2 separate regions of the Homo sapiens genome follow, and region 2 is linked to region 1. Evidence: promoter capture Hi-C in 16 types of primary human blood cells and fetal thymus (Javierre and others, 2016). All regions are on one chromosome and are shown on one strand. Each heading gives the region's core, a stretch centred on a gene start or on the middle of the fragment in contact. The rest is flanking DNA. Distances are from core to core; before and after follow the strand shown.

Region 1 (4,307 bases), core at 592-3,091:
TACTTGGTGTACGCCCTGTGTAAATGAAGAGGATCAAGTAAAGTTACAAAGACATTTACTGGGTTTACGCCTTGTGTCAATGGTGAGGATATTTCCTGTAATAGCTGAAGTATTTCCATTTGATTTAGTTCTAGGAAGTCAGCATGAATCAGTCTTATGTTCCCTGCCTCCAGACCGTATTCTCCTGTCTCACCCCGGGCAGACGTGGGGAGCTGCTGGCTGGTCGGCTGGTCAGCTGGTCAGCTCCCCTGGGAACAGGGCCCATCCCAATTCCCACCAGGTGTAGCCAGGGTGGTGAAGTCAAGTGGGACAACGTGAGGGCCTGTGCTTAAGGCCCCGTTTCCTCGGAAGGGGTTTGGGGCACTCAGGCATCAGGTACTGTACCTCCTGCCCAGGGATCCCAGAGCTGCCTAGAGGAATTTGAGCAGGCTGGAATTCCTGCTGAGCAAGCAAGGCCAGAGTCACAGAGACCCTCTTAAAGTGACCTTGCTTTTAGATGTAAGCCGATTCAGTCTAGGGGGAAAAAATGACCACATGGAACCACTTATAAGGCTCTCTAGCTTAAAAAAAAAAATTATACACCTTAGCTCACCAAAGTCTCCAGGAAGTAGACATTATCAGCAGCATTCCCATTTGACGAATGAGAAGACAAGCTTACAGAGGTTACCTGAATTGCGAGGATCACACAGCTAGTCAGCAAGGGAGCTGAGACTCAAACCTGCGTCTTCAGATTCTGGTTTGCGCCTCCTTCTGACTGCACAGCCCTGCAGGCTCCAGAACATCTCCCTTGCCGGCTCTGCTTCCTTTCCTCAGCTGTTGAATGGTGATGCTCCCAAGGCCGTCCGTTAGGGCCTGCATTTCTCTCCCTCTCCACACTCTCTCTGGTTGTTCTCATTTACCTCCTTGCCTTGGCCTAATATCAAAAAGTCAGTGGCCCCTAGAACTCTCTCCAGCCCAGATCTTTCTCCTGAGTTCCATACCTATATATCTAATGCCTTACTGGACACCTCCACATGGCTGTCCAAGCCACCTCAAGTGCAGTGTTTCTGAAATGAAACTCATCTTTCTCTGTAAACTGCTTCTCCTTCTGTGTTCTCTGAGTAGCAGTGACTTCACTTCTGAAGCACAGACTATGTGTTAGTTATTTCACACATGCAAGAGCGGGGTATCATCGTCCCATTTTACAAAAGATAAAAGTAAGGCTTGGAGACGTTAACTTGCTTGCACAAGGCCATAGTACCAAGTCGTTGACAGAGCCAGAGTTCAAATCAAACTCTATTCTGCATTTCTCTCACTGGCACAGGCTGCCTGGAAACCATGGGGCCTCAGCTCTTCACTCTGTTGCACGAACCAGAAGTCATGGTTCATTCTTGACTCCTCCAACCCTCCCCACCCTCTTCCCACCCTCACCCACCCCAGCTTCTCACCCCCACAGCTGCCTCAGAGCTGAGTCAATCAGTTCTACCACCTAAATGCTTCGCAAGCTGTGCCTTCTCTCCATTCCTATTGTCACTTCCTTGGTTTAGCCCCTAAATTATGTCTCCCTCATTACCTGAAATAACTTCCTAACTAGTTTCTTTGTCTCTAGTAACAACCCCGCTTCAAGTCCTCTCTCCCTGTGAATGAGCTTTCTAAAATATACCCAATCATTGCATTCACCTGGTTAAGACCTCCAAAAGCTTCCACTACCTCCAGGATAAATCCCAAATTCCTGTTTCTGCTGATGCCTGTATATGCAGGTGATCCCTTGCTGGGTCTCTGAAATGGGTTCATCTCTTCAAGGTTTTTACTGAGACGATATAGTCCTCTTGTTGCACATTGCACTGATCCAGGCCATCTGTACTGTATTCCAATGAGCTACAGAAAAATGCTTGCGTGAGAGCCTTTCATATGCAAAAATAAAGACTGAATTATGCCATAACTATTGATAAGTCTACAGTAATCCATCATGCAATTGTTTACCCAATAGATTGTGTTTATATTGTCTTTGGTACCATGTAATTTGTAAATTTTCATGACAGTGTAACCAGTTAGGCCTAGGGTGGCAGGACTTAAGTGTTGCTGAATCATTTATTACTCCACACCTCATTGAAAAGTGCTTCATAAACTTTCTGAAACTGTTCAACAGACAGAGGGTAATTTGTGCTCTGCCAACAAAGGATTCTGTTGTTGAGTGCCTATCAGCATATTAAAGGTTCAGAGAAAACCAGCAATGCAGAAACTAGAGCAATTTTGTTCTCAGAAGATAGTTTTCTTCTGCACATCCATTCGTTAACATATTCTAAAAGAGTCTGCCCTCAACAGGAGTTTGGGGAAGCACTGGGATAGAGTGCAGAGGCCCTGAGGCTTCTGGAGTTTATCTGACTCTGACATCAGGATGCAAGCACAGACCTGCCACTCTCTCAGGAACATCTTTCGTTAACTCCCGTTTGTCTTTCAAGATTCAGTTCAGATGGCATTTCCTCCTAGTGCTCTTCCTCCCTCTCTGTCTGTCACACACTCACAGGTGCATATGCACCCACACATTTGTGACATGTATAATAATTGCATGGGATTTCCTAACACCCTCTTTCATAATACCTGTCTGTATTTTCTATTGGTTGATAGAAAATTCAGCCCAGACGGATGAGAGCCAACAGGAAATTTATAGGCATTGGAGGCACGCTGCTGCAGCAGCTCCAGCCTCACCCATCCCCACCCTGTCCCAGGTCCAAGTTCAGCAGGAAAGCAGGATTGTCTCATAGGTTTTGTGCCCTGCCTGAGGAAATTCCCCAGATTGTGAATCCCCAAAGGTAGACCAGGGTCTCTTATCCCATATCCAGCCCTTAGCACCTTCCTTGGCATGCCTTGTTTTCAACAAATAACAAATGGGGACACAAAATGTTCAAAGCAAGACTTCTACCTCGAAGGAGTTTATAGTCTAGTTCAAGAGTCACTATGTATAAACAGAATAGAAATACAATAGACCATACAAGGTAACATAAATGCCAAATGAGTGACTTGGGTATTAAGTATCAAAGGAATTCAAAGAAGGGACAGTTTTGGGAGTTGATAAATAAGACATAGATCCTGAACTAGAGAAACTGTTTCTAGTAGGAAAGAAAGGTATGTTACACAGAAAATGCCAATACAGACTGATAAGTATGGGGGCAGAGTGTTCATTACCATGTTCTGTTGGTTCTAGAAAGCTTTTCTTTTTCACTAAATGATTCAAATAATAGCAGCCTTATTTTTCTTGGTCTTATTTACTTTATTTTACTAATAAATTTTTCAAGATGAGAATAGGGGATTTCCTGTTTTGGTGTGTGACTCAGGACACAGGGCCCCACATCGCAGCCTGACACATAGCAGCCTGATTTCATTTCACTGCAGCATCACAGTTTTCCATAACTTCTCTTTTTTTTTTTTTTGACAGAATCCTGCACTGTCACCCGGGCTGGAGTGCAATGGCATGATCTCGGCTCACTACAATCTCCGCCTCCTGGGTTCAAGCGATTCTCCTGCCTCAGCCTCCCGAGTAGCTGGAATTACAGGTGCCCGCCACCATGCCTAGCTAATTTTTTGTATTTTTAGTAAAGATGGGGTTTCACTATGTTGGCCAGGCTGGTCTCGAACTCCTGACCTCATTACCCGCCCACCTCGGCCTCCCAAAGTGCTGGGATTACAGGCGTGAGCCACTGCACCCAGCCCATAACTTCTCTTTTTAGCTGAGCATTTAGCTGCTGTTAAATTCAATTAAGTCCTGCCCCTAGAAGCATGCTGTGGATGACTGCAATAACACTTCTGCCAGAAGACCATGCAGCTGGGCATGTTGACCTCACGGATTAAGGGCTGCAGACATGGTGGGAAATATTTCCTCTCTCTGATAGAACATTTTCCTCTCTGATTTTGCCACTGGAATTTGAACAAATTTCATTTTAAGGGTTGGTCTTCAATGTGCAGGATTTAGACACCAAATCCTCCTGGGCAGAGTTTGGCAGAAGAAAGAGGAAGACCTGGTGATGTATGGTCTCTCACAGTCCCCTGAAGACCCTTCAGTGGCTCCGCATCACTCACAAGACAAAACTCCAACTCTGACAATGACCACCAAGGCCCTCGCTGCCACCTCTAAGCCAGGCTCATCTCTCAGTGCTTCCTAACTTGCATTTTACCTCCAACAGCTCAAAAGTGCTCCTGCTCCCATGCGCCGTATCCCATGCCCTTGCTCGTGCTGTTTCCTGGCCTGACACTCACCACCTGTGGCCTGGTTAACTGTGTTATCCTTTAAGCCTCAGCTCAGCTGTCGCCTCTTCTAGGAATCCTTTTCT
Region 2 (4,307 bases), core at 1,195-3,694, 310 kb before region 1:
AATCCACATCAAGCACTGCAGATACATGATCCATATGGACCATTACAGGAGTGTCCAGTGCACGCATATCAAAAGTATATAAGCTGTAAAAGAATTTTTAAATATTTGACACATATTTCTAGAAAGATGCCATATGCAGTACTAAAAGATACCACTGAAAACAAGAACCATTTGCAAAACAATGCACATCTAAACAAAAAGCTCAATGCTGTACACAAGCAGGTGAGGGATAAGGAAAAATTTCAACAGTTTTTATGATTCCTTAAGACTCCACTTATATATATACCAACACATTTTCCACCCTATAAATCTCATTGTAGAAAATGTGGAAATTTCAAAAAAAGTAGAGTACAAAAATTACCTTGAATTCTACTACCCAGAGGCCAGTTATTTAGTACAGCATAATTTTTTAAAAAACCTTTTTCACCATACTATTTAAATACATACTTTTAATAAAATTGAAATGTTATGTAAAGCTTTATATTCTGATATTTCACGTAGCATATTAATGAGCATTACCCATGTTATTAAACAATCTTTGAAAATATTTTAATGGCTGTATATATAAGTTCAAATAATTTATTTCCCTATATTTTAATAGTTTCCAACATTTTATTATATATAATGCTTATTAAATTCCCAACGTTTGGATTTTTAACATTCAATCTTTAACTGAATGGGACAGGTTCAATTAAATCTGGACAGATTCCTACAAGTAGCATTGTTAAGCTTAAAGGCATGAGCATTTTTAGGCTTGATTTGAGTTGCCAAATCACTGCCAACAAAGTTGCACTAATTTATACTCCTACTGGTGATATGTAAGAGTGAACATGGCCTTTCAAAGGGTGAATCAAAATGAGAAACTATACTTTATGCACAATTGGTAAAAACAATGACTTCATGAGTTTCAAGATTCAAAAATTCTTAATCTAATGGCTAAAAGAATAGTGCTTCAAATGAACCAACATGAACAATGGACAAAAGTAATACAGCAATATTGTGACCAAGTTCCTAATATAAAAATACTTGAAGATGCTAAGATTAGTGAGTAGAAGTCTGAGAAGAGGATATCTACATAGTTTCAAAGTATCTCCCCAAAGATATATAATAATTACAAAAGGAAAAAAAAGTAACTCTTTAGTGGAGAAACCTGGCAGACACCACCCTAACCAAATGATCAAGGTTAACATTACTAGTAGTAAGACATTGACAACTGCTTTACAGTTCCTGCCTAAGAACAGTGGTTTTCAGCTAGGTTTGCTTGGTTCCAGCAAACTGCTTTTTAGTAAGATGCTTTATTTCTACATGGGAAAAATGATAAGAATTCCAATTCTAAGCATATCAATTTGTGTACATGGAAAACCTTTAAATAAACAAAGTTCCACATTATAGGATTCATTAGGGATCATCTATTCTAACCCTCACCTTACAGATGCTGAAACTATGATATAGAGTTAGTTTAAATGACTTGCCCAAGTTTATACAGTAATTACTGGTCGGCCTAGACTTGAACTTAGGTTTCTAATTCAGAATGACTAGAATATCTAAAGGGCAATAAAAGAAAAAAATACTTACAAATATAGAAAAGGGATACAAAAGCAAGATCATTTTCAAAGAGCAATTATGATACTCCAACAGTCACTTATTATAAGGGATATGCTCTTTGTTTCAGGTGGCATATGCAATTCTTTTCAAGGCAAGGAATGAGAAATTCCGAGGACACTCTGAAAAACGGTACCTTGCTAAAATAGCTTATTAGAACATTCTTTAGAAATCTTAATGAGGTTGGTCACAATAATGCTGTATTACTCTTGTCTTTTATTGCCTTTAACTGGAACAATGCCACTTAATTTCAAAACATCAATAAAGGTTAAAAAAAAAAGCTTCAATTACTGTGGTTTGGTATTGCTAGTTAATGAGAGTCTAACTGAGCTTCTTTTATTTTTTTAAGACACCAGGGTCTTGTTCTGTTGGCCAGGCTGGAGTGCAGTGGCCCAATTACAACTCACTGTAACCTCAAACTCCTGGACTAAACCTCTTTTTAGCAGAAAGTCATAAAAGATGCTTTTAGTTGGTACCACTAAAACATCATATAATAAATCCTTTTATGAGCTAACACTACTACTTTTTTGCTTCCAAATCTACATAGTGGAACATAAAACAATACAAAGATCTAAAGTTCAATCCACCAACAAACTTCTGCCTTCTTAAAAAAAACATGTATTAAGAATCTATCAAAGGCATAGCGCTATAATAAATGCTTTGGGAAAAAAAAAGATAAGATACTCTTTCCTCCCTGGGAGACTAATCTCCCCGCTTTAATATCTTAAAAAGGGGATAACATGCATGTCCCACCTACCTCATATGGATACTGAAAAGATAACTATAATTTTTCTTCCATCTGACTGAACAGTGATAGCTGATAACATGACCACATGAGCATCAGCTACCTGATACTCACCGCAATACAAACATTGCAGGCAGATATTTTCATTTCCATTAAAACATGTATGGTTCAGTCATTATTTATAAGACCTACATCAAACATCAGCCAACTTCTTCTGTAAAGGGCCAAATGTTAAACATTTTCAGGCAAGTGGGCCATAAGGTCTCCGCTGCAACTATTCAACTCAGGCATTATAGCACAAAAGCAGCCATATCCAATATCTAAATAAGTAAGTGGGTGTGGCCATATTCCAATAAAACTTTATAAAAAACAGGCAACAGAAAGGATTTGGTCCACGAGTTGTTTACTGTCCCTGGTCTACATCATTCTAAATACTGACGAAATAAATACTTTTCTAAGAAGTTCTTCTCCAATTTGGAAAACTTTTTAAAGCTAAACAGATGACAGTTTTCAAACTTTATAGGTATACCTACCTAGTGGTATATATTTTATTAGTACGACTTATACAATTAAGCCATTCATGATAGAAATACACAAGTTTTTAAAAGAGGGAAACTTACTTATAATCTTCATTTGCTGCTGTAAAAATGAAAGCTTCCATAGGGTTCCAACAGATTGTATTTGTTCTCATATCTAAGATAACCTGAGAAAGGAAGAATGGATGAATTTCCCACTTCCTTTCCTTTTCTTTTCCCCACTGATTTAAGCAAATATTTCATAAACACCTATTATGTGTAAAGTACTCAGCTCAGTGCAATGGGAAGAGAAATCAATCAGTAATTGCTTCTTAAATACACAGGCAGAATAGTAAATATAAAAATAGAAATGCTTAACTCCCAGTCTCCTAATCTCAAACAACTTACAGTTTAGTCAGAAAAATGTGACACATAATAAAAGTTAAAATATAAACAATAAAGTAACAAATGACTAAGTATCAAATTAGGGGCAAAATTAATGGTGAGCTTAGGGTTAACATAAAGAACTGTTTCTAAAGACAAGTATGATTTGAACTGACCTGTGAAGGATCAGTAATTCAGTGTTTCTCAATGGGAACACTGTTGGCATTTTGAGCAGGATTATCTTTTGTTGTGTATGACTATCCACTGTAGGATGTTTTGCCACTCAGGGACCTCCCACTACATGTCCCTCTTGCATTCCCAGAACTGTACCTGGTAGGGGACTACAATCCCTGACTAAGAACTACTACATTTATGAGAGAAAGGATAAAAGAAACATTGATAGACTAGTAGATGGAGCAAAGAAGCAACAGAAAGTAGCAGTGTCTAACAATCCCTACATCTATCAAAGTGACCTGCATGTGACAAACTCCAATTCAATGTTACCTAACTGACTAAAAGAAATAAATGAGTTGCAAATTAGAACCAGATTTCAGAGCACCTTGAAAGCCAGGCTACATTTTCTTCAACCTAAAATTAATGGAGCTCCATTAAAAACTGAGAATGTGCAAAGCAGGAGGCAATAACAATGAAAAATAAACTAAATTAAAAAAAAAACAGAATGAGTGTTAGGTAGGTGGGAGGGGGCAGAAATGACTATTCATTAAACTAGTACCTCATGTCAGCATTCTGCTAAATGCTTAAAGTATCATGTTTTATTCTCAGCGAAGTGCTGCGAGATAGTTATTAATACCACCACCTTACAGGAGAAACACATTTTAGGTTAACGTGCTTAAAAGTCTAAGACCAAAGTTCATATAGGATCTTCCCATTAAATCACATGAATGAGTGAAATCATATAAGTGGTACTTTGGAAAGATTATCATATTTATCTACTTCAAACTTCAATGAATGTACTCTCCTAATATCTAGTTGTTACGTTATAAAAATGATTTAGGAATAACAAAAGCAAGTATTAAAAGCATTTCTTTTGTATGTGGACT

What was found. The method cuts DNA at HindIII sites, captures the fragments that hold promoters and counts their contacts. A CHiCAGO score of 5 or more calls a contact.
Region 2: a fragment that was not itself captured here is called in contact with the fragment with the promoter of LINC01181 in region 1 in 6 of 17 cell types (endothelial precursors, megakaryocytes, M1 macrophages and 3 more); the score reaches 8.4 in endothelial precursors.

What each region holds. Positions count from the first base shown.
Region 1 is chr8:103,118,566-103,122,872 of GRCh38, reverse strand. It overlaps LINC01181 (long intergenic non-protein coding RNA 1181), which reads right to left and starts at 1,841. Exons shown (of 6, transcript NR_145429.1): 1 at 1,660-1,841. RefSeq lists an enhancer at 303-804. The HindIII fragment of the contact is 1,509 bases long and covers 1,682-3,190 here.
Region 2 is chr8:103,431,402-103,435,708 of GRCh38, reverse strand. DCAF13 (DDB1 and CUL4 associated factor 13) reads right to left here. Exons shown (of 11, transcript NM_015420.7): 7 at 2,968-3,050; 8 at 1-83. Among named protein-coding and RNA genes, the nearest start is that of DCAF13, 18 kb to the right of the region's middle. The HindIII fragment of the contact is 1,118 bases long and covers 1,886-3,003 here.